4 separate regions of the Homo sapiens genome follow, and regions 2, 3 and 4 are each linked to region 1. The links are contacts of gene promoters, found by promoter capture Hi-C in blood cells and fetal thymus (Javierre and others, 2016). All regions are on one chromosome and are shown on one strand. The core of a region is centred on a gene start or on the middle of the fragment in contact, and the rest is flanking DNA. Distances in the headings are between cores, read along the strand shown. Region 1 holds the start of U2AF1 (U2 small nuclear RNA auxiliary factor 1). Region 2 overlaps HSF2BP (heat shock transcription factor 2 binding protein). Region 3 holds the start of LOC124905031 (a long non-coding RNA gene). Region 4 overlaps RRP1B (ribosomal RNA processing 1B).

Region 1 (6,025 bases), core at 2,932-5,431:
CCCACCTTGGCCTCCCAAAGTGCTGGGATTACAGGTGTGAGCCACCTCACCCAGCCTGAAACTACTTCTAAATTTTAAAAAGAACTGTGGATGGCTGGGCGTGGTGGCTCACACCTGTAATCCCAGCACTTTGGGAGGCCAAGGCTGGTGGATCACCTGAGATCAGAAGTTCGAGACCAGCCTGGCCTACATGGTGAAACCCTGTCTCTACTAAAAACACAAAACATTAGCCAGGCATGGTGGTGGGTGTCTGTAATCCCAGCTACTGGGAGGCTGAGGCAGAAGAATCGCTTGAACCCGGGAGGGGGAGGTTGCAACAAGCTGAGATCGTGCCACTGCACTCTAGCCTGGGCAACAAGAATGAAACTCTGTCTCAAAAAAAAAAAAAAAAAAATTGCGAGGCAAGGTGGGGGATGCCTGTAATCCCAGCTCAGAAGAATCGTTTGAACCTGGGAGGCAGAGGTTGCAGTGAGCCAAGATCACGCCAATGCACTCCAGCCTGGGTAACAGAGCAAGACTCTGTCTCAAAACAAACAAACAAAAGAAATAGTTTCAGATAATCTTCTGTTTTCTTCTTGCAAAGAAATGACTTCATCAGAACTTCTTTTAGAAGCTTCTAAGTATCATTGAAAAATAGCTCTCTCAGTTTTTAAATTTTAGATGCAGATTTTTCCTATTGAGTGCATAAACTAGTTACTTTAAAGGCGCCCCATTTTAGCTATTATAGTCTGGGGTCTTCACGGGTTAAGTGAGACCATGTTTCTAGATACTGACAGAAGGTGGCACCATAAGCATTGTCCACGAATCCAGCTGCCGTCTCTGCAGATGCATGTCTGCTCTAGAAGCACAAGTGTCCATAATTTAGATTTTCCTTCTGAATGACCAAAAATGCCTAAGGGGAGGAATTTTGGTCACTAAAGAAGAAAATGGCCAAGCGCGGTGACTCACGCCTGTAATCCCAGCACTTTGGAAGGCCGAGGCAGGGGGATCACGAGGTCAGGAGTTCAAGATCAGCTTGGCCAAGATGGTGAAACCCCAACTCTACTAAAAATACAAAAAATTAGCAGGGCATGGTGGCAGGCGCCTCTAATCCCAGCTACTTAGAAGGCTGAGGCAGAGAACTGCCTGAACTGAGGAGGCAGAGGTTGCAGTGAGCCGAGATCATGCCACTGCACTCCAGCCTGGGCGACAGAGCGAGACTCTGTCTCAAAAAAAAAAAAAAAAAAAAAAAAAAGAAGAAGAAGAAGAATGTTTAGATTTGTCAGTTGAACCAAGTTTCAGAATATGGCCAGTTTTAAAGATGACACTTTCTCCTTGACCAAATTTCGAATGAGAGAAAAGGCTGCAAACTGTAAAAAGACAAGCAAAACCTCAGACAGAAGTGAAAATCACAAATCTGCAGTCAACAGAATCTCTAGAGAATAAAAATGGAAACTCCTACCTTTCAGTGGAGCTTCAGTTCTAACCCTATCAAATTATTAGTGTGTAAGTCTCAATCTTCAACTAAGCTGGGAGGATTCAGATCCCAAGACTGGCCTTACCAGAGACCCCTGCCAGCCCCAGTGAGGTCGAGTAAACAACAGTCGTTTGTGCTGGTACCAAGGCTCCAACTATTGATGCCACTACTTAGTGGCAATCCCTGAAGGCCTGCTTCAGGTCCTATCTGGGTTGCCAAAATGTCAACCTCAAATAATGAAATTCAGGAAATATGATTAAGTATAGAGTTTATTTGAGCCCAAAGCTTGAGGATGGCTCCCTGGGCACATGCCCCTAGGTTGCCCTGAACATATGTTCCCATTAGCAGCAGTCACAGTGGGGTTTTAAGGAAAAGGAAGAGGCAGTCCCTAAGTTGTTAGCAAGAATTTGCATTAAAATAACAGAAGGTGCTGATTGGCTATGCATCGTTCTTAGCATCACTAATTCCATGTGAACAAGAAGATAATGGGTGAGGCAGCCTGTCAGGAGCAAAAATTCCATCAAACAATTGCCCTGGACAGTTGCTTCTATGGTGGAAGAGGCGCTGAATGAAGTCCCACACTCCTGCCTCTCTGGGCCTGATCATTCTGCACACCTCACAGAGCTCAGACTACCCTATTTTTCTTTTCTCAGGAAAAATGGGTGGATGGTACTGGTGGCCCTGCCTGGTCTGATCATCTACCCTGGTTCTAGTAACCAGATTAATTCCTTGTAATAGAGCTGTGGATTTCAGTTCAGTTCCCACGCACAGACCTTACCTCTGCTTTCTCCGACCACTTCTCCCCCACCCCAGGTACTTCACAGCTGAGAGCCTCTTGCCAGCTTCCAACTCTCCAGCAGTCTTTGTTCCCAGACCGTGTCCTGAGGCTGCACTTTCTGGACATGCCCACCTGCTGGACTGGCATCTGTCTTGTCACTTCTCTGGCCTCACCTCTGCGAAAGGAACACAAAAGTCAGGACCCCAGTTCACTCTGTCAAAAGGAAAAGAATGAGCTGAAAGCTGAGTCATGTAAGCAGCTGCCTTTCCTTTCGTTCCTAAGCAGACGGCTACAGATAGAAGGTTCAACATCCGCTTCTCTTATGTAAAGTGCTGATTTGCTGAGGAGTGAGCTGTACACAGTCGACTGTTCCCAACCTGCTTCTTTTCTCTTGCAACGTGTGGATTACCACACTGTTCCGCTTTCCCCTCCAGCCCACTTTTCCCCTTTAAATACTGAAGCCCTCAAAGTCATCTTTGGAGAAAGGCACAGACCACAGACTGTTTCTGTGATACCGTGTTTTTTTTCCTCCCAGGCATTGTCCTTAACCTTGGCAAAATAAACTTCTAAATTGATTGAGCCCTGTCTCAAGATACTTTTTGGTTTAAACCTCTGAGGCCCTACTGTTTCTAATACAGGTTTCCAGTTTGCTCATCTTTCCCAGGTAGGAAGATGCTCTGTTGCCAAGAGAAATGCAATTCTAACACGCAAATCCGCCCAAACACTAGAGCTCAGCATTCAGCTCTAGCCGAGCTAAGAGGATCCCATGGTCCTGCCCCACAGTCTGGGGCTCATCTTGTGGAGGAGGTAAGTAAAATAGGCCCTGTCTCTCTGACTTCTACCTAATCAGAGTTGATAGTTGCGTTGGAAATTAGGTAAATCGCAGGTGAGTTGATGAATGTGGGAAACCAGATGAAAATGGCTGCTTGATGGGGTTAAAACGCAGGAGAGGAATAGAACCCTTCCAACGGAATGGTTCCAGCCTTGTGACATGAGGAGACTGAAAGGGTATCCCAGAGGCAGGTCACTGGCCTTCCAGCTCCACCTGTGGGTGGCCTTGGCCAGGCAACTGCAAGAGTGCAGGGCCCCGGGGAGGTCGCACCTGGCAAGCGCTGAGGGAGGGTAAAGCGGAGAGGGGTGTGAGAAGAGAAAAACAACACAGAGCGTCCGAGCTATGTGAGGCGTGCGAGGTTAATCCGGCCCGGAGAGACAGGTCTATGCGGCTTCAGCGGTCCCCACCCATGCCTGGCAATTGTTTAAAGGCACTATTGCTCCGGACCCGCTGCCTTCACCCATGAACTTCCTTTCCTGGAATTATGATATAAAGAACAACGTACAGCCAATTAATAGCTTGTTATTTTCATGTAAATTCTTGGTGAGCTATTTAAGAACTGCCCCCCTCTTAAGCTTTATAAACCCACTTGTCACTGTTGCAAATCCTATGTTCAGGGCAACTTGAAGCTATGCTCCCGGGTTGCAATCTTCAAACTTGGCCCAAATAACCTCTCTACTTATATCAAGTTTGCCTCAGCTTTTTTTTTCTTCTAGGTCGACGGTTCCCGCCCCGCAAGGGTGCAGGGAAGGGGACGCCCGCACTTCCTAGTGCTCCCTTAGCTGGGGTCGAGCTGAGCGCCCCCCACCGAGCCCCAGGCGGCTCTGTGGAGAAGCCCCTCGGCCCCGGGTTCGGTCTGCACTGCCAGCCCCCAGTCCCCGGCGCGCAGGATCCAGCAGGGCCAGCGCCGGGCGGGCGAGAAGGCGAGAGAGCTAGGGCCGGGCGGGGAGGGCACCGGCAGGGGGCGCGGGTTCCCAGGACCGAAAAGGCGGAGCCTCCCACGCGCACTACGTGCTCCCTACGCGCATGCGTCCCGCCCACGCGCAGGCAGCACCTCGCCTGACTGGGTAGCGCTGCCACGTCGGGGCGGGGAAGAGCGTCGTCGCGTCCGGGTGACGTCTCCCGAGGGCGTCGGCAGGGTCGGCGGCGTCGGCAGCAGTGTCGACGGCAGCGGCGGCGGCGGGTGGGAAATGGCGGAGTATCTGGCCTCCATCTTCGGCACCGAGAAAGACAAGTGAGTGGGAGCCCCCCGCCGGGGGTTGGGCGCGATCGGGGCGCAGGGTGGTTGAGGCGGTGGGAGGGCGACCGGGGAGGCCCAGGCGGGCCGGCGCGGCGGTGGCGGGGGAGGGGCGCGCGGCGGGAAGGAGCGGTGGCCCTTCCGGCCCCTTGCGCGCCCTCCGGAGCCGCCGCCTCGTGGGCCGCGCGGCGGAAAACTGGAGCGGGCAGAATGAATGGGGTCTCTTTTCGGGGCGCCGCGGCCGAGCTTTCTCCGGCCTTGGGGTCCGGACTGGCTGATCGCCCGACGTCCGGGCCTCCGAGTCGCCGACTCCCGGAAGCCGCCTCGAGCCGCGCTGAAAGTTGCCTGGAGCATCCGGGCCTTTTGGACGTGGACACGTTTGTTCCAACTTTCGGCTGTGAATGTCCTGTCGAGCAAGCTCTGGTACCAGCCTCGCCAGTATTCAGTCGCTTATCTAACTTAGGGTCCTAAGCGTTGGTGTTTTATCCACTTAGCCAGCCTCTTGCCTGTTTAAGCGACCGCTGGGCCGGCAGTAAGGAGATATGACGAGAAAAAGTATGGTGGAGACTACTGGATTAACTATCTAACCACAAGAGACGTGATCCGCTCTTAACATACAGGTGCTCCTGGATTTACCATGGGATTGCGTTCCGATAAACCCATCATGAATCGAAAATGCCTTTAATACCCCGATAAACCCATCATCTAAGTTGAAAATTTGTAAGTCGGTGACTGTTCTTGAAGACACAATTCTGATATAAGGAAAAAGATGTTTTGATTTTTTCCTTAAGGTTGCATGCCTTCCCTAATCAATCGTTAGGTTAAAAGCAAAACATTTAATTTCAGCTTTAATTGCCACCTTGGCACGTACTAATTTCCAGTGAGTTGGCTGTAGTTTAGACTAAATGGAATGTTTTCAGACGTTTGAAGGATAATTCTTACTTTGAAAACCTAAAGACTCAGCATCTGGCTTAATCTACTCTTTAGTTATCTTGGCATTCTTCAGTGCCATACAAAGTTAACATGACTTTATGTTTTCAATGATAAACCCCTAAGTTTGTCATAGATGTTTTTAATGCCACTTTTTTCAAACGCTATTTAAAATGTTTCTCTTTTCCAGGATGGAGTCTATCTTGTAAAATGTCCTCTTCACACATGGTAGAATCTCCTGTGTTGTTTGGATGAGGAGGCTATATTTCTAGCAAAATTTTAAGCCAAAATCTACCAGTTATAGTCACTCCAGAAACATTTAGTGGGGGTCAACTATAGGTCAGTTTCTGGAGACTTAAACATGGGTAAAATTTGGATATTATCCTTAAGGAACTCACGGTATGATCTTGGCGAATGAATAGACCAGCTCTATCGGAACAAGAGACTCTTCTGAGTTTAGGGTGAAGAACTAACACATGTAGGATCGGGGCATCATTAATTTCTCCTTTTCATATTTGCATGTGGCATGACTTCTGTCTTGTAAAAGTCTATCTCCCTATATTTCTGCTATAAGCAACCACATTTCAATCTATTGGGCTATACTATAAAGGTCATGGTTTTAATTCAGAAAAGTTGATTATTTAATCTAGGTTACTTGTGTTTTCTTTTCAGGGAGACGTGGGGTTTTAGCTTCCAGGGAACAGGATCAACTCCTGAAAAATGAAGCTGATGGTTCATATTAACTTTAATTATTATTTAAGCTAAGAATAAAATATAGATCTCTACCAATTA
Region 2 (5,879 bases), core at 757-3,256, 520 kb before region 1:
CTCCAGGAGACCTTGTGGTATATGTGGACATATTACCACTTCAGTATTAATACTTTACATGTGTTTAAGAAGATCAAAAGTGCTTTTATATATATTATCTCATGGTTAATATAGTATTTATTGAATATTGTGTTATCTAACATATATACATGTATGTAGATGTGTGTGTGTGTTTATACATACACACACACACACATACATATAGATGCAGAACCTTGAGCAACATGGAGGTTGGAGGCGCTGACCCCCTGCACAGTCGAAAAGCCACATAGAACTTTTGACTCTCTCTACTGTTGGCTGGAAGCCTTACTGACAACATAAATCGTTGATTAACACATTTTTTGTATGTTAGATCATCATGAAGGTCTTCCCCCTCATCATCTTCAAATTGAGTAGGCTGAAGAGGAGGAGGAAGAGGAGTGGTTGGGTTGGCATTGCTGTCTAAAGGGTGGTAGAGGTGGAGGAGGTGGAAGGGGAGGCTGGAGCAGCAGACACACTTGGTGTAACTTTTACTGAAGAAAATTCTTGTGTAAGTGGACCTGTGCAGTTCAAACCCTTGTTTTCAAGGTTCAACTGTGTGTGTGTGTGGCAGCGTGTGTGTGTGAGCATGTGTGTTTGAGCATGTGCATGTGTGTGTGACTGTGTGTGTGTGTGGGAGCATGTGTGTGTGGGGGAGTGTGTGTGTGTGGGGGGGGAGCGTGTGTGTGTGGGAGCGTGTGTGTATGGGAGCATGTGTGTGTGGGGGAGTGTGTGTGTGGGAGCGTGTGTGTGTATGTGGGAGCCTGTGTGTGTGTGTGGGGGGAGCGTGTGTGTGGGGGAGTGTGTGTGTGTGTGTGTGAGCCTGTGTATGTGGGATCGTATGTGTGTTTGTGTGGGGGAGCATGTGTGTGTGTGGGGGAGCGTGTGTGTGTGAGACTGTGTGAGTGTGTGTGTGGGAGCGTGTGTGTGTTTGGGGGAGCGTGTGTGTGGGGAGAGCGTGTGTGTGTGTGGGAGCGTGTGTATGTGGGAGCGTGTGTGGGGGGGGAGCGTGTGTGTGTGTGGGAGCATGTGTGTGTATGTGGGAGCCTGTGTGTGTGGGAGTGTGTGTGTGGGGAGCGTGTGTGGGGGGGGAGTGTGTGTGCCTGTGAGCCTGTGTATGTGGGATCGTGTGTGTGGGAGCGTGTGGGTGTGTGGGAGCATGTGTGTGTGTGGGAGCGTGCACACGCACATGTATGCATGCGTGCAGGCATTTGTCAGGGAACTTCACAGAAGGGGATAAATTTGAAATGGGCCTTGATGAATAGGTAGAAATGGCAGAAAATGGGTGGGTTTGTTTTAGGACAGTGAGTAGGTCAGTTGACACAGTGGAGAGTTAATGTCATAGAGTAGTGGGGAGGTAAAGCTTAAACGTAGGTTGGGATGTGACTTTGGGACCTTGAATACCAGGTTGGTGATTCATTCTGTAGGTGGGAAGACTGGATTTTCCCTAAGGGTTTTTCAATAAAAGTGATAGGATAAGAGCAGAATTTTAGAAAGATTCACCTGACAGTGGGTGAGGATGGATTAGGAGGTGGAGTTGTGGCACATCGCGTCTACACAGGATGACTGATGAGGTGGTCATTCTAGCTGGTCTGGCTGGAGTGAGCTCGGCCCTCTGCAGGGGAGATGGGAAAGAAGGAACATGTATGAGAGCTGTGGCAGTTGAGGCAGATGCGATGGCCGGGCAGAGTGGGCACCTGGAGGGGACAAGAGGAGCCAAAAAAGATCGGTGTTTGACTCTGGGAGCATGGCGTGATCATGACTGGAAATGAAGGTGAAGAGGGGGACGTGTGGCAGGAAACCAGTGAGAAATTAGTTACTGCTAATAGAAATAACAGTTGTGTTTGACTTTAGGTGGAAAGACTAAATGTGTTTTTAAAAGTTTGTTGAGCTTTATTAGGTTTAATTTACATACTGTAAGATTGTAAATGTACAATTTAGTGGTTTTTAGCAAATTTTTAGAGTTGCATTAACCATCACCACAACCCAGTTTTAGATTATTTGATCATCCATGAAGTTTTCTTATATCATTTGTAAATGCAAATATTTCCAATTTTTTAACTGGGTTAAAATGTACATTGGTTTTAAAATTCTTCTTCAGAACTCTAGCACCCCAAAGGAAGTAACTCAAAGGTTCAAACTTGGAAATGCTTTTTGCCAAGTGATGAAGATTTAAACTACCAGAGGAGCCAGTCTTTACCTCTTTTACATGTTTTCATTAAGATTTTTTTTTTTGAAAAAAGTTATGCTAAAGGTTTGAACACCTCTGGTTTAATGCCCAGAGCAAATAGGCAGCATGTTTTTCTAGTATATTTTTATTACATTTTGAGTGAATTCTTCCCATTTACTTTCATCATCATGTACATTTGTCCTATATCATATTTATGCGTGTGAAGAGTCCACCAATCTTCAGGGTAGTTTTTGTTGCTCCTGCATGCCTCAAGCTGCTTTCTCTGTTCTTTTAATGGGAACTTTTAATGAGGGAATAGATTTTACAATATTCTACAATTAAAACTAGAATCTTCTGTATCCTGCACTTTTAAAATGTTTTCACACTAGTGTCTGTAAAAAGATATGACACTCTGATTTTCAAACTTTCAGGATAAAGCTTTGAAGTTTTTCAGCATCACTGGTCAAACAATGGAGAGTTTTGTGAAGTCGTTAGACGGTGATGTCCAGGAGCTGGATTCGGATGAAAGTCAGTTTGTTTTCGCTCTGGCTGGAATTGTCACGAGTAAGTGCAGGCGCACCTGAGAGATGTTGCCTGTTTGCTTCCAGACCACTGCAGTAAAGCAAATACTGCAATAATACATGAGTCACATGAATGTTTTTGGTTTCCCAGTGCATATACAAATTATGTTTACACTATACTGTAGTCTGTTGTATGTACAATAGCATTATGTCTAAAAAATGTACAAACTTTAATTAGAAAATTCATTATTGCTAAAAATGCTAATGATCATCTGAGCCTTCAGCAAGTTACAATTTTTTGCTGGTAGAGGGTCTTGCCGTGATATTGATGACTGCTAACTGATCAGGGTGGTAGTTACTGAAGGTTGGGGTGGCTGTGCCAATTTCTTAAAATAAGGAACAATGAAGTTTGCCACATTGATTAATTCTTCCTTTCATGTAAGATTTCTCAGTAGCATGTGATGCTGTTTGATAGCATTTTTTCCACAGTAGAACATCTTTCAAAATTGGAGTCAGCCCTCTCAAACCTTACTGCTGCTTTGTCAACTAAGTTTATGTAATATTCTGAATCTCTTGTTCTTATTTCAACAATGTCTTAGCATCTTCACCAAGAGTAGATTCCATCTCAAGAAACCACTTTCTTTGTTCTTCCATAAGAAGCAACTTATCCTTTTTTTCTGCCACCACGTCTGTAGTTACTTACTCCACTGAAGTCATGAACCCTTCAAAGTCATCCATGAGGATTGAAATCAACTTCTTCCGAACTCCTGTTAATGTTGTTATTTTGACCTCCTCCCATGAATCATGAATATTCTCTTGTTGCCCAGGCTGGAGTGCAACGGCGTGATCTCGGCTCACTGCAGCCTCCACATCCTGTATTTAAGTGATTCTCCTGCCTCAGCCTCCCAAGTAGCTGGGATTACAGGCATGCGCCACCATGCCCAGCTAATTTTGTATTTTTAGTAGAGATGGGGTTTCTCCATGTTGGCCAGGCTGGTCTTGAACTCCTGACCTCAGGTGATCTGCCCACCTCAGCCTCCCAAAGTGCTGGGATTATAGGCATGAGCCACTGCGCTTGGCTGAATCATGAATATTCTTAATGGCATCTAGAATGGTGAATCCTTTTTAGAAGGTTTTCAGTTTACTTCACCCAGATCCATCAGAGGAATCACTGTCTATGGCAGCTGTAGCGTTATGAAATGTAGTTCTTAAAAAAAATAGGACTTGAAAGTTGAAATTTCTTTTTGATATATGAGCTGAAGAATAGGTATTGTATTAGCAGGCATGGAGTCAACATTACTTTCCTTGTACCTCTCCATCATGGCTCTTGATTGACCAGGTGCATTGTCAATGAACAGTAGTGTTTTGAAAGAAATCTTTTTTTCTGAGCAGTAGGTCTCAACAGTGGGCTGAAAATATTCAGTAAACCATGCTGGAAACAGGTGTGCTGTCATCCAGGCTTTGTTTTTCTATTTCTAGAGCATAGGCAAGAGTAGATTTAGCATAATTCTTAAGGGCTCTAGGATTTTCAGAATGGTTAAATGAGCATTGGCTTCAATTAAAGTCACCCGCACCATTGGCCCCTAACAAGAGAGTCAGCCTGTCTTTTGATGCTTTGAAGCCAGGCATTGACTTTTCTCTAGCGGTGAAAGTCCTAGATGGCGTCTTCTTCCAATAGAAAGCGACTTTGTCTACATTGAAAATCTCTTGTTTAGTGTAACCACCCTCGGCAGTGATCTTAGCTAGATCTTCTGGATAACTTGCTGCAGCTTCTCCATCAGCACTTGCTGCTGCACGTTGTTTTTATGTTATGGAGACAACTTCTTTCCTTAAACCTCATGAAGCAACCTGTACTAGCTTCCAGCTTTTCTTCTGCAGCTTCCTTACCCCTGTCAGCCTTCACAGAATTGAAGAGCATTGGGGCTTTTCTCTGAATTAGGCTTTGGCTTAAGGGATTTTTGATGATTTTTGATCTTCTGTCTAGAATACTTGGGCTTTCTCCATATCAGCAATAAGGCTGTTTTGCGTTCTTATCATTCATGTGTTCACTGGAATAGAGCTTTTAATTTCTATCGAGAACTTTGCATTTGCAGTCATAACTTGGCTGTTTGGCACAAGAGGTCTAACTTTCAGCAGGTCTCAGCTTTGGCCATGCCTTCACTAAGCTTAATCATTTCTAGCTTTTGCTTTCAGATATGTATCTTTTCCTTTTGCTTGAACATTTAGAGGTCATTGTAGGGTTATTAACTGTCCGAATTTCAGTATTGTTGTGTCTCAGGGAATAGCAAGTTCCTAGGAGAGGGAGAGAAACGGGAATGGCCAGTCATTGGAAAAATCAGAAGATAAGTAGCATGTATTGATTAAATTTGCTGTCTTACATGGGTGTGGCTCATGGTGCCCTAAAACAATTACAGTGGTAACATCAAAGATCATTGATCACAGATGACCATAACAGATGTAATAATAATGAAAAAGTTTCAACTATTGCAAGAATTACCAAAATGTGACACAGAGACATGAATTAAGCACACACTGTTGGAAAAATGGCACCAACAGACTTGCTCAATGTAGGGTTGCCACATTCCTTCAATTTGTAAAAAAACAGTATCTGCAAAGCACAATAAAGTGAATGCAATAAAACGAAATGTGCCTGTAATTCTTTTCAGCTGTAGTGACTGTTACAGAGACTGGTGTTTACAGTCAGGGTTGAGAGTGTGTAAACATCTCTCAGGAGTGTTTTCAGATATTAATGCTGGGGAGCACCCTGGATAATCTGATTCCATAGTTCTGGGATAGGTACCGGGTATGTTTATTTTGGAAAATCACCCCAGGTGATTCTGATAAGTATCAGTTATTAAGAATGAATGATCTGAAGGAAACAGATGAGTTTGCATGTTCTGTGTAGTTATGTACCTTGACAGAAAAAAACAAGTAAGTTTAGCTGCTTTTATTCAGAATCATAATTTTACTGTCTGGCTAGCTAAAGTAAAAGCCTTAAGCTAAGCTTAAGCTGAGCTCTTTGCTGTTGTTTTAGTATAATAATTATATAATTCCAAAAACCTAAATTGCCTCTTCAGTAAAATTCTCCTAAAAGATAATAAAGTAAACCTTTCCCTGAGAGTTATGATAAAATTCCGTCTCAGAACTATCATAAGGGATAAAGTCCAGGA
Region 3 (5,611 bases), core at 2,721-5,220, 600 kb before region 1:
CCAGCTACCTGGGAGGCCGAGGCAGGAGAATTGGTTGAACCGGGGAGGCAGAGGTTGCAGTGAGCTGAGATGGTGCCATTGCACTCCAGCCTGGGGCAACAGGGCGAGACTCCATCTCAAAAAAAAAAAAAAAAAAAGCTTGCTTTCAGCCAGTGGTAGTAGTTCATGGCTGCAATCCTAGAACTTTGGGTGGCTGAGGCAGGAGGACCGCTTGAGCCCAGGAATTTAAGACCAGCCTGGGCAATATAGTGAGACCCCATCTCTGCTAAAAAAAAAAAAAAAAAATTAGCCAGGCGTGGTGGCACGTGCCTGTGGATCCAGCTACTTGGGAGGCTGATGCAGGAGAATCACTTGAGCCCAGAAGATTGAGGCTGCAGTGAGCCATCATTGTGCCATTGTACTCCAGCCTGGGTAACAGAGCAAGAACCTGTCTCAAAAAATAAAATAAAATACAAAACAAAATAGAAGGCTTTCCATTTGGACACAGGAATGGATATGTTACCAACCATGAGTTCTTGGGCTCTCAATGCAATGGAAATTGACATGGGGCCAAAAGAGTTTTCCCAGACAAGGCTTCATTGGAGCTTATGTCCAGGCATAAGGGAGGCGGCCCAAGGGAGAGAGAGTCCCTGACTGAGTCCTGGAAAGGAGTTGGTTAGGACTTTTTGTCAGGCAAAGGGTGGAAACTGATATCAGGGTAGGGTGTGCAGGCTGGGCTGGGGAAGGCCTCCGAGGACTGGGACAGGCTGATCAGCACTTCTGGTTGCGACGGTTATTTTGAGTCATGGGCCAGCTAGCTGGCTGGCTGGGGCAGCGAGGCTGTAAATCTGTTGCTCAGCATTCCTTTCCAAGGTGGGGACATTCTACAACCTTGGTTGATATTCTGGATCTTTTAAGGCCAGTTCCTGAAATTCTTTAAGTAAAAGGCCTGGTTAAATATTACAAGAGCACAGAAGAGCACTATAAACGGCTGTTTTCCTTGTATGACCAAAGTCTCAGGGTTAGCGAGTTTGGTGTCAAGCCAGGTAGTGGCGTGGGGTGTGTGATCCGTGGAAGGCATGAGAGAATGCTCTAGTGGGGGGTTAACCGAGCCAGCCCGTCCCTACTCTGTCTCAGGTATGACTGTGTAAATAAATGTCCGTCCACACCCTGGCGGCAAATGAAATGCCCTTGCCAGCAGACCATGCCCAGAGGTTGTTTGAGCAACTGCCTCCCAGCACCACAGGGTTCCTTAATTACCATAAAGGATGTTAAAAGTCATTCAGGATTTGTGTTTGGCCAGAAGTTTGAGCGGTGTCTCTTTTTTTTTTCTTTCTTTCTTTTTTTTTTTTTTTTTGAGACGGAGTTTCGCTCTTGTTGGGCAGAGGCTGGAGTGCAATGGCGTGATCTCGGCTCACCGCAACCCTCGCCTCCCGGGTTCAAGTGATTCTCCTGCCTCAACCTTCTGAGTAGCCGGGATTATAGGCATGTGCCACCACGCCCAGCTAATTTTTTTTTTGTATTTTTGGTAGAGATGGGGTCTCCGTGTTGGTCAGACTGATCTTGAACTCCCGACCTCAGGTGACCCACCTGCCTCGGCCTCTCAAAGTGCTGGGATTATAGGTGTGAGCCACTGTGCCCGACCCTGAGCGGTGTCTTAGTTAGCGGGGGATGCTTTAACAAAATGCACAAAGTAACAAAAGAGCCAAGCCATGAAAGAGAAAGCAACAGGAGAAGCAAGGAAAGCACAGATTTACTGAAGACATTTCAGAGTGGGAGCAGGCTCAAGCAAGCGGCTCAGGTGCCTCTTCTTTTGGGTTTTTGTTTTGTTTTGTTTTTTGAGACCGAGTCTCTGTCGCCCAGGCTGGAGTGCCAGTGGTACGATCTCGGCTCACTGCAAGCTCCGCCTCCCGGGTTCACGCCATTCTCCTGCCTCAGCCTCCCGAGTAGCTGAGACTATAGGCACCCACTGCCACGCCTGGCTAATTTTTTTGTATTTTCAGTAGAGATGGGGTTTCACCGTGTTAGCCAGGATGATCTCGATCTCCTGACCTCGTGATCCGCCCGCCTCGGCCTCCCAAAGTGCTGGGATTACAGGCGTGAGCATGAATTTCTTCTTTACATGTAGCTTCCAGTACCCAGATCACATGATTTTTGATGGAAGTCCAGTGTGATCCGTATTCTTGTTCCTCTATAGGAAGGTACTTTCCCTCCGACATCTTTCAAGATATTCTGTCTCTGGTTTCCTGCAGTTTGAATACGACATGCCAAAGTTCCTATTTTTTGGCATTTGTTGTACTTAGTGTTCTCTAAGCTTCCTAGATCTGTGGTTTGGTGTCTGACACCAATTTTGAAAAATGAGAAGCCATTATTACTTCAAATATTTCTTCTATCCCTTTCTCCCTCTCCTCTTCTGGTATTGCCATTATGAGTGTGTAAATTACCTTCTATAATTGTCCCGTAGTTCTAGGATATTCTGTTCAGTTATTTTTACTCTTTTTTCTCCTTGCATTTCAGTTGGGGAAGTCTATGGACATGTCCTCAGCTTGCAGATTCTCTCCTGGGCTGTGTCCAGTCCACTGACGTCCGAGGCACAATCCCCCGTGTGACCCTGCCTGGCGGCGGCCTCTTGTTAGAGCTGTAAGTCACACAGGCTTCTGCCTGTCCTCTAGCTGAGTGTCACTGTATTGCGTCCCACCACCAAAAGAATCTTTAGATCTTATAAAACATCAATACACAGGCTTCTGCCTCTCCTCTAGCTGAGTGTCACTGTATTGCGTCCCACCACCAAAGGAATCTTTAAATCGTACAAAACATCAATAAAGGATTTGAGTCCTAAATATACAAGGATTTCTTTCTTTCTTTCCTCTCTTTCTTTCTCTCTCTCTTTCTTTCCTTCTCTCTTTTCTTTCTTTCCCTTCCTTCCTTTGTTTTCTCTCCTCTGTTTCTCCCTTTCTCTCTTTCTCTTTCGTCTTGCTGTTGCCCAGGCTGGAGTGCAGTGGCGTGATCTTGGCCCACTGACACCTCCACTTCCCAGGTTCAAGTGATTCTCCTGCCTCGGCCTCCCGAGTAGCTGGGATTACAGGCGCCTGCCACCACACCCGGCTAATTTTTGTATTTTTAGTAGAGATGGGGTTTTATCATGTTGGCCAGGCTGGTCTCGAACTCCTGACCTCAAGTAATCCGCCCGCCTCAGCCTCCCAAAGTGCTGGGATTACAGGCATGAGCCACTGCGCCCAGCCTTTTTTCCTTTTTTTTTTTTTAAATAGGGTCTTGCTCTACCACCCAGGCTGGAGTGCAGTACAGTAGCACACATCAGCTCACTGCAACCTCTGTCCCCTGGGCTAAAGTGATCCTCCCGCCTTAGCCTCCTGAGTAGCGGGTACTACAGGCGTGTGTCACCATGCCGGGCTAATTTTTGTACTCTTTTTTTATTTTGTAGAGAAGAGGTCTCACCATGTCGCCCAAGCTGGTCTCAAACTCCTGAGCTCAAGTGATCTGCCTGCCTCGGCCTCCCAAAGTGCTCAGATTACGGGTGTGAGCCACCACAACTGGCGAAAGAATTCTTAAAACTCAACAATAAGGGAACAACCTAACCAAAAAATAGGCAAAAGATCTAGACACCTCACCAAAGAAGATATACAAATGGCAAATACACATATGGAAAGTTCTGAACGCCATGCCATGAGAAAAGTACAAATTCAAACAATGAAACATCGCTAAGCACTGCTTACAATGGCTGAAGTCCAGAACACTGACAACACTGGGTGCTGGCGGGACATGGCACTCTCCTTCATTGCTGGTGGGAACACTGTAATGGTGTAGCCACTTTGGAAGGCACTTTGGTGGTTTCTTAGAAAGTAAACATCTTGGCCGGGCGTGGTGGCTCACGCCTGTAATCCCAGCACTTTGAGAGGCCGAGGTGGGGGCGGATCACCTGAGGTCAGGAGTTTGAGACCAGCCTGGCCAACATGGTAAAACCCCATCTCTACTAAAAATACAAAAATTAGCCTGGCATGGTGGCAGGCACCTGTAATCCCAGCTACTCGGGAGGCTGAGGCTGGAGAATCGCTTGGACCCAGGAGGCAGAGGTTGCAATGAGCAGAGATCATGCCACTGCACGAGTGAAATTCCGTCTCATTAAAAAAAAAAGAAAGAAAGAAAAAAGAAACTAAACATCTTACCTTATAATTCAGCAGTTGCACTCCTTGATCTTTACCCAAAGGGTTAAAAACTTATGTCTACACAAAACCCTGCACACCAATGTTTATAGCAGCTTTAGTAATTGTCAAAAACTGGAAGCCACCAAGGTGTCTCTCAGTAGGTGAATGAATAGACAAACTGTAGTGTACATTTGCAATGGAATATTATACAGCAATGAAAAAGAGTGAGCCATCAAGCCATGAAGCGATAGTGAGGAAACGTTAGGTGCACATTACCAAGTGAAAGACACTGATCTGAAGAGTCTGCCTACTGTGTGACTCCAACCAAGTGACATCCTGGAAAAGGTAAAACTATGGAGATAATTAAAAGGTCAGGAGGCTGGGCGTGGTGGCTCATGCCTGTCATCCCAGCAGGCGCGGTGGCTCATGCCATTATCCCAGCAGGCACGGTGGCTCATGCCGCCATCCCAGCAGGCGCGGTGGCTCATGCCGTCATCCCAGCAGGCGCGGTGGCTCATGCCTGTCATCCCAGCACTTTGGGAGGCCGAGGCAGGTGGATGTTTGAGCCCAGGAGTTCAAGACCAGGTTGGACAATATAGTGGGGCCCCATCTCAAACAAAACAAAACAAAACAAAAAAAACCCAAAAATTAACCATGTGTGGTGGCACACCCCTGTAGCGTAGACCTAGCTATTTGAGAAAGGCTAAGGCAGGAGGATTGCTTGAGTCCAGGAGGCAGAGGTTTCAGTGAGCCAAGATCATGCCTCTGCACTCCAGTCTAGGAGTCAGAGCAGACCCTCTCTCCAAAAAAAGAAAATGGTCAGGTGTTGTCAGAAGGTTAGGACAAGGGGGAAAGGAAAGGATAGGAGAAGCACAGTGGGCTTTAGGGCCAGAAAACGACTTTGTGTGACACTGTGATGGTCAAGGGGGAAAGAAATGGATATGAGAAGCACAGCGGGCTTTAGGGCCGGAAAAGGACACTGTGATGGTCTGCACATGAGATTAGCATTTGACAGACCCAGAGAAGGGCCCATCATGAGTGACCCCTGATGTGAACCAAGTGAACTCTCCTGTAAATAATCACATAACAGCAGGACGGCACCACACAGCTGGAATCGGCTATAGGGTGTGCACCAACTCACCTGCTGAAAAAAGAAAAATAAACAGCAAAATAAAGTAGAGATATTCATATGCTAATACGTTTAATTTTATTTTACTTTTTTGAGACAGGGTCTGCTCTGTCACCTGGGCTGGAGTGCAGTGGTGCCATCAGGGCTCACTGCAGCCTCAACTTCCTGGGCTCAAGTGATCCTCCTGCTTTGGCCTCCCAAGATGCTAGTATTACAGGCATGCTCCACCATGCCCAGCTAATTCTGTAATTTTCTTTGTAGAGACAGTGTATTAGACTGTTCTCATATTGCTATAAAGAAATACCTGAGACTGGGTTATTTATAAAGAAAAGAGCTTTAA
Region 4 (5,823 bases), core at 891-3,390, 580 kb before region 1:
GGATGCTCGGAGCCACTCTCCTCCCCAGTGCTGGACGTGGCCTCTGCACCTGGCTCGGCCACACGTGCCTTCAGGGCTTTCAGCCCAGAGGCCTCGGGCTCCCTGCCCCGGTTCTGTTCCAGGGATGGGGCTGCACCCCCTGGGCCTGGATTTTCAGGCTGCAGGTGGTGCTTCTTCTTCTTCTTCCTTCTTCTCTTTTGAAGACTGCTTTCACTGTCCTCTTCCTCTACACAAAAGACTCTGCTTCCTAAAAAGACAGAAACCCATCAACAAGCACCCAGTGCCAGCTGGGCCAGAGTCCTGCTGGCGATTCTCAGACAGTATGACTGGCGGACGCAATTTCCTGACATTCTACCACGAGGAAAGTTCCTGTCTCCCTTGAGGTACTTGGTGCGCCCACTACCTTTGTCGTCTGGTCCCACTTCCTCCATCCCCAACTGTGACTGGAAGCCTTCCTTCTGTCCGTTTATAAACACATATGGAACTGAAATAGTCCCATTTCCACTAATTTTAGGGCTCAAGGGTAAAAACCATAGATCTCGAGTGGTCATCAAACAGCCGCCCCCCAGTGCTCCCTGCAGCTCCTGCTTCCCTGCAGAGGTGCCCTGGAGAGCAGGCGGACGTGAGCGGGGTGAGGTGGGGACGCGGCTCCACCAAAAACAGCACAACACTTGGAAAACCGCCTTTACCTCTCAGCCATTAAAGACTGAAGCTTTGGGCTCTGCTAATGCTTTATGACGGCACGAGCTCAAGTCTCCGAGGCCTCCATGGTGCATGCCGCTCCCCAAGGGCTGAGTCGTGCCCTTCTTTTTAGCTTTACAGCTTACCTTTCTCCTTTTCCAAGTTAGTTTTCTCTAAAAGTTTATTTCCTTTCTTCTTATGCTTTCCTTGACTGAGGATTTGGTCATCTTCATCAGCAGAAATGTCCTCCGCAAAACTGAGTTGAGATATACTGCTTCCTAGATGCCAGAGTGACACACTGTTAGCTTCCCCAGGCGCTCAAGACTCTGCCCCAGGGGCCTAAGAGCAGCACCCCTCCCAATTTCTGCCTCATCATCATCGTTCCTCACCGTTTCTCCCACCCAAACCTGAGCGCTGCTGACACAGGAATTACAGACTTAAAAAAGCTTTGTGGATTTCTCAACCAAGGCAAGGCAAGGGATCACAAGCCCTCGGTGACACCCTCCATGGCTGGACCCCGGACGCTTGGCTAATGCAGTCTCTGCATTCCAACCAGCTTGCTGGTGCCTTTCCCAATTCCAAGTGTCCCTAGTGAATGACGGGTATGGGGTAACTTCACTGACTTGTCCAAATGTAACAAAGCTTACAGCATCAGCCTTTCCCGGGGGGACCATTGACCATAAGAGCAAATGAAAGGGATCCTGAGAAATTACATTTTTTACCTTCATAGAGTATCCAATTAAAACCTTCCTAGGCCATTGAAAATCCATCTAGTTAAAATAATAAAAACCAAACCAAAACATCGCAGTACCCACACATGAGAGCAGTCTGCCCTCTTGCTTTGGTGGTTAGGGAGAGCCCAGGATAGGAAGGTGGGCAGGCTGCAGGGAGCCCTAGGCTTGCATCACTTCCCACGCTGTACTGCGGTATGACTAGGTAAGGGCTGGTCTGTCTTTCTTAAAAGTTGGGGTCTTGTTGTGTCACCCAGGCTGGAGTGCAGTGGTGTGATTACAACTTACTGCATCCTGGACCTCCTGGGCTCAAGCGATCCTCCCCTCTTAGACTCCCAAGTGACTGGGACTACAGGATCACGCCACCACGCCTGGCTAATTTTTTCATTTTTAGTAGAGATGTGGCCTTGCTATTTTGCCTGGGCTAGGGACTATTATTTCTTATCAGAGGTTTTCAGTAAAGTTCTTTCAATCTTGTTTCTCAGCGTTTGGCATCAACGCCCCCAGTGGGGTCCATATTCACGAAAAACACCATGAATGATGATTCTTGGCGCGCCTCACCTTCAGAAAGGTCTTGGAATCTAAAAATAAAAAAATAAAAAATAAAAAATAAAAAAATAACAAATGTTCATAAAGAAATCCCTTCTGTCTTCTGTAGACATATGTATTTGATTTTTAAAATACAAGCCATAGTTAAATAGTTGTTAATTCACGTTCTCCTCCAGGAGGGGAGGCTAGACAGGAAATTCTGTGAGGGAAGGGTGGTGCAATACAAAAGCCAAAAAGCTCAAGGCCAGTGCCGCCCTCGGTTACCATCAATACCAGCAAGGACACGGCGGGCCAAAGATGCATCTTGGCACACCCAAATCAAACTAAGAAATTCAATTTTTGTTTCTGAAGGCAGAAATAGCTTAGATCTCTCTCATATTCAATTCTCCAGTGGAGAAAGGCGAAGCCATGTTTTGCTTCACACAATTTTTGTGCATTAGAACAAACAAGACGCATCGAAGCGCAGTGTGGGGAGGTGCATGGGGGAGGAGACACTGGATGGCAGGGACCTCAGGCAAGCTAGGACCATCCTGTGCCCTAAGAACCAGCTGGGAAATGGGCAAAACTACAGGAGCTACTTTCTGGGGGCTTAACATGGAATACTTGAATGTATACAAAGTGCTCAGAGCAGTGCCCGGCTCCTAGAGTGTGATCAGACAGTTGTTGTCACCAATGACAGCAAGCCACACGAGGCCCTCCATGAATTCCAGGTCATCATGTCACTATGGTCAGAGTGACATCAACACTGACAGCTGAATTAACTAACACTTTTGGCATAGCCATATGGGAGGGAGGGGAGAGGTAAAGAATTAACCCTATCTATCTCAGCAGCACACCAGCAGAAGACACCTAAATAGCAGATTCACATCAGTTTCTGGTTGGTTCATTTTAGACATGAATAGACTTCACATCATTCTAAAGCAGCTAAGAGATGAGTATGGCTGCACTGGAAGAATGGAACCTGAGGGGTGGGACTGCTGTTTCCATTAAGCTTTTCAGTTTACATGTGTCTATTACATTGCTATACACAAAAGCATTAAAGGACAAAAAAAGAAGAAAGAAAAAAGATAAGCATGCAGATGGCTTGTCCCACACCAGGAGATGAGAACTAAAGGAATGATGATGTCAGAACCCTCTCCCCAGTTACTGACTTCTTGATGAGTTTGGAGAGGCGCTTCCTGTTGAAGTGGGGCGTGTTCTTCCTGCTGGTCATTTCCAGGAGTCGATCAGCAACAGCCTTATAGTCAAACTAGGCAGGAAGAGAAACTAAACATAAGTCTGCAGCCAAACAACACTGCCTGACTTGGCCATTTACATCTGCTAGTAAGAGAAACCCTTACTGAAGCATTTGGCAACAGATAGGCTAAACAAGCTTGTGCTGGGACTTGGCAACCAGGAGCACAAGCACTACCTTTGAAAAATGCATGTTCAGGCCGGGCGCGGTGGCTCATGCCTGTAATCCCAGCACTTTGGGAGGCTGAGGCGGGTGGATCACAAGGTCAGGACATCGAGACCATCCTGGCTAACACGGCAAAACCCCGTCTCTACTAAAAATACAAAATATTAGCCGGGCGTGATGGCGGGCGCCTGTAGTCCCAGCTACTCGGGAGGCTGAGGCAGGAGAATGGCGTGAACTCAGGAGGCAGAGCTTGCAGTGAGCCGAGATCGAGCCACCGCACTCCAGCCTGGGAGACAGAGTGCGACTCTGTCTCAAAAAAAAAAAAAATTATTCTTGGGAAAAGCTGGGTAAGCAATTCTTAAAAAAAAAAAATTGTGATAGAGTACCCACAACAAAATTTACCTGGGTGTGCTTTTTTTTTTTTTTTTTTGAGCCAGAGTCTGTCACCCAGGCTGGAGTGCAGTGGCATGATCTCAGTTCACTGCAACCTCCACCTCCCGGGTTCAAATGATTTTCCTGCCTCAGCCTCCCGAGTAGCTGGGATTACAGGCGTGCGCCACGGTGTCGGGCTAATTTTTGTATTTTTAGTAGAGACGGGTTTCACTGTGTTGGCCAGGCTGGTCTCGAACTCTTGACCTCAGGTGATCTGCCCGCCTGGGCCTCCCAAAGTGCTGGGATTACAGGCGTGAGCTTGTAATTAAATTTTAAATTTAATCTAGATTTGCAATCTGTACTTGGCAAACTTTTTTTTATTTGAAAAGTGCCACTAGAGCTGGCTCTGTGGTAGAGAACAGAGGAGAGCTTAGCCATTCAAAATAAGTGCTACTATCTCTTTCAAAACTCCATCATATTTACATTTCCTTGTCTCCAATAAGGTTATTCTTCAGAAGGTGACATTTAGTGACTGAAGGGATTAAAAAGGAGTTTACGCTTCAGGCCTTATAGCTTAACTAGCTGTGACCCTAATTCTCTAGTCAGGCTACTCCACAGCAAATCTATATTCTATAAAAAGCAACAACTGCTACCCACCTGGAGAAGGGGCCCTGTGTCCTCAAAGGTTCCACAGTCATCTCTTCCTCTTTCATCACTGAGTCCATCTTTTCTGGAATGGTTTTTGCCCAGTGCTGTCAAAATATACCCAAAGACCAAATTATTGACATATCAAATACACAGAAGTGACTACTTCCACAGGAGCCACTGTCTAATTAGGTGTCTCTTAGCAAAAAAGAAGGTTGGGCACGGTGGCTCACGCCTGTAATTCTAGCACTTTGGGAGGCTGAGGTGGGTGGATCACTTGAGGCCAGGAATTCTAGATCAGCCTGGGCAACATGGCGAAACCCCGTCTCCACTAAAAATACAAAAATTAGCTGGGCGTGGTTGCGGGTGCCTGTAATCCCAGCTACTTGGGAGGCTGAGGCATGAGAATCGCTTGAACCCAGGAGGCAGAGGTTGCAGTGAGCCAAGATCATGCCACTGCACTCCAGCCCGGGCGACAACGAGACTCCGTCTCAAAAAAAGAAAAAATGAAAGAAAATTTATTTAAGGAGAAAAACTCTGCAAAGCCATTTATAATTTCCCAGGACATTTTGATTGTTCAGGCTATGGGAATGAAGGTAAGTCTGGGAAAAAGCACATGTTTTGCCTTTTGTACCCATAAAACCCCAATTCCCTGCTGCCTTCGATGATTTCCTCCCCCACACGTGGTCCCGTTAGGACGAAGGCTGCGGTGCATGGGAAGCTCCTGTCCAGGGACGCAGGCAAGCGGATGGGACACGGCATCGCCCTGGACCACCAGGGGTAGGAGCATGGACGCAGGAATCCGGCCCTAGTCTCAGGTCAGTTTAGGACCTTGGTGAGAACCTGTCACAGCAGTACAGTCACTTTTCACGAGCATGCTTCAGGAAGCACAAGTCAATATTAATGCAACTTTTAGCACTTAAAAAATTCAGAGTGTTACAGCCTATGAAGAAGCAGATTAAACAGACTCAGGAGAACTCAAAATTATTTTAAACGTGTACTGTTTCTGGAACCCTCTAAGCTTATTAGTGGTGCGACATCAGGGCAAGGCCTGGGGAGGATGGGGCAGGCGCAGCACACGTTTCATGAACGCAACTGGGAGGGAACGTCCGGAACTGCACTTGGAAGAGAGTCTGTGTCCAGGTTAGGCGACAGAAATGTGGGGAGCGGAGGGACCCAGAGACTACTCCCATGACCACATAAAATTTGCTCCAGGTCCTTAGTCAACTCTGTTATCTACACCAAATTTAAAATCAGACTATTTCTTTTTTTCGTTTTGTTTTAGAGATGGGGGTCTCATTATGTTGCCCAAGCTGGTCTCAAACTCCTGGGCTCAAGTGATCTTCCCATCTTGGCCTTCCAAAGTACTAGGATTATAGGCATGAGTCTCCACACCTAGACTAGACTATTTCTTTTATTCTTTCTTTTTTGAGACAGGGTCGCTGG

The links. The method cuts DNA at HindIII sites, captures the fragments that hold promoters and counts their contacts. A CHiCAGO score of 5 or more calls a contact.
Region 2: a contact is called between a fragment that was not itself captured here and the fragment with the promoter of U2AF1 in region 1, in 1 of 17 cell types (M2 macrophages). The highest score is 5.1, in M2 macrophages.
Region 3: a contact is called between a fragment that was not itself captured here and the fragment with the promoter of U2AF1 in region 1, in 1 of 17 cell types (M1 macrophages). The highest score is 5.3, in M1 macrophages.
Region 4: a contact is called between a fragment that was not itself captured here and the fragment with the promoter of U2AF1 in region 1, in 1 of 17 cell types (M1 macrophages). The highest score is 5.5, in M1 macrophages.

Annotation. Positions count from the first base shown.
Region 1 is chr21:43,105,726-43,111,750 of GRCh38, reverse strand. U2AF1 (U2 small nuclear RNA auxiliary factor 1) reads left to right here and starts at 4,181. Exons shown (of 8, transcript NM_006758.3): 1 at 4,181-4,300. The coding sequence starts at 4,257. LOC101928369 (a long non-coding RNA gene) reads right to left here and starts at 4,061. Exons shown (of 5, transcript XR_937770.3): 1 at 3,656-4,061; 2 at 2,235-2,409. The HindIII fragment of the contact is 2,538 bases long and covers 3,644-6,025 here.
Region 2 is chr21:43,627,195-43,633,073 of GRCh38, reverse strand. It overlaps HSF2BP (heat shock transcription factor 2 binding protein), which reads left to right. Exons shown (of 9, transcript NM_007031.2): 6 at 2,620-2,752. Among named protein-coding and RNA genes, the nearest start is that of MIR6070, 20 kb to the right of the region's middle. The HindIII fragment of the contact is 1,245 bases long and covers 1,384-2,628 here.
Region 3 is chr21:43,707,924-43,713,534 of GRCh38, reverse strand. It overlaps LOC124905031 (a long non-coding RNA gene), which reads left to right and starts at 1,260. Exons shown (of 2, transcript XR_007067895.1): 1 at 1,260-2,180; 2 at 2,497-2,819. RefSeq lists enhancers at 826-1,447, 1,513-2,394. The HindIII fragment of the contact is 3,350 bases long and covers 2,296-5,611 here.
Region 4 is chr21:43,681,940-43,687,762 of GRCh38, reverse strand. It overlaps RRP1B (ribosomal RNA processing 1B), which reads right to left. Exons shown (of 16, transcript NM_015056.3): 9 at 4,390-4,484; 10 at 3,113-3,210; 11 at 1,974-1,993; 12 at 828-959; 13 at 1-247. Among named protein-coding and RNA genes, the nearest start is that of RRP1B, 25 kb to the right of the region's middle. The HindIII fragment of the contact is 1,629 bases long and covers 1,326-2,954 here.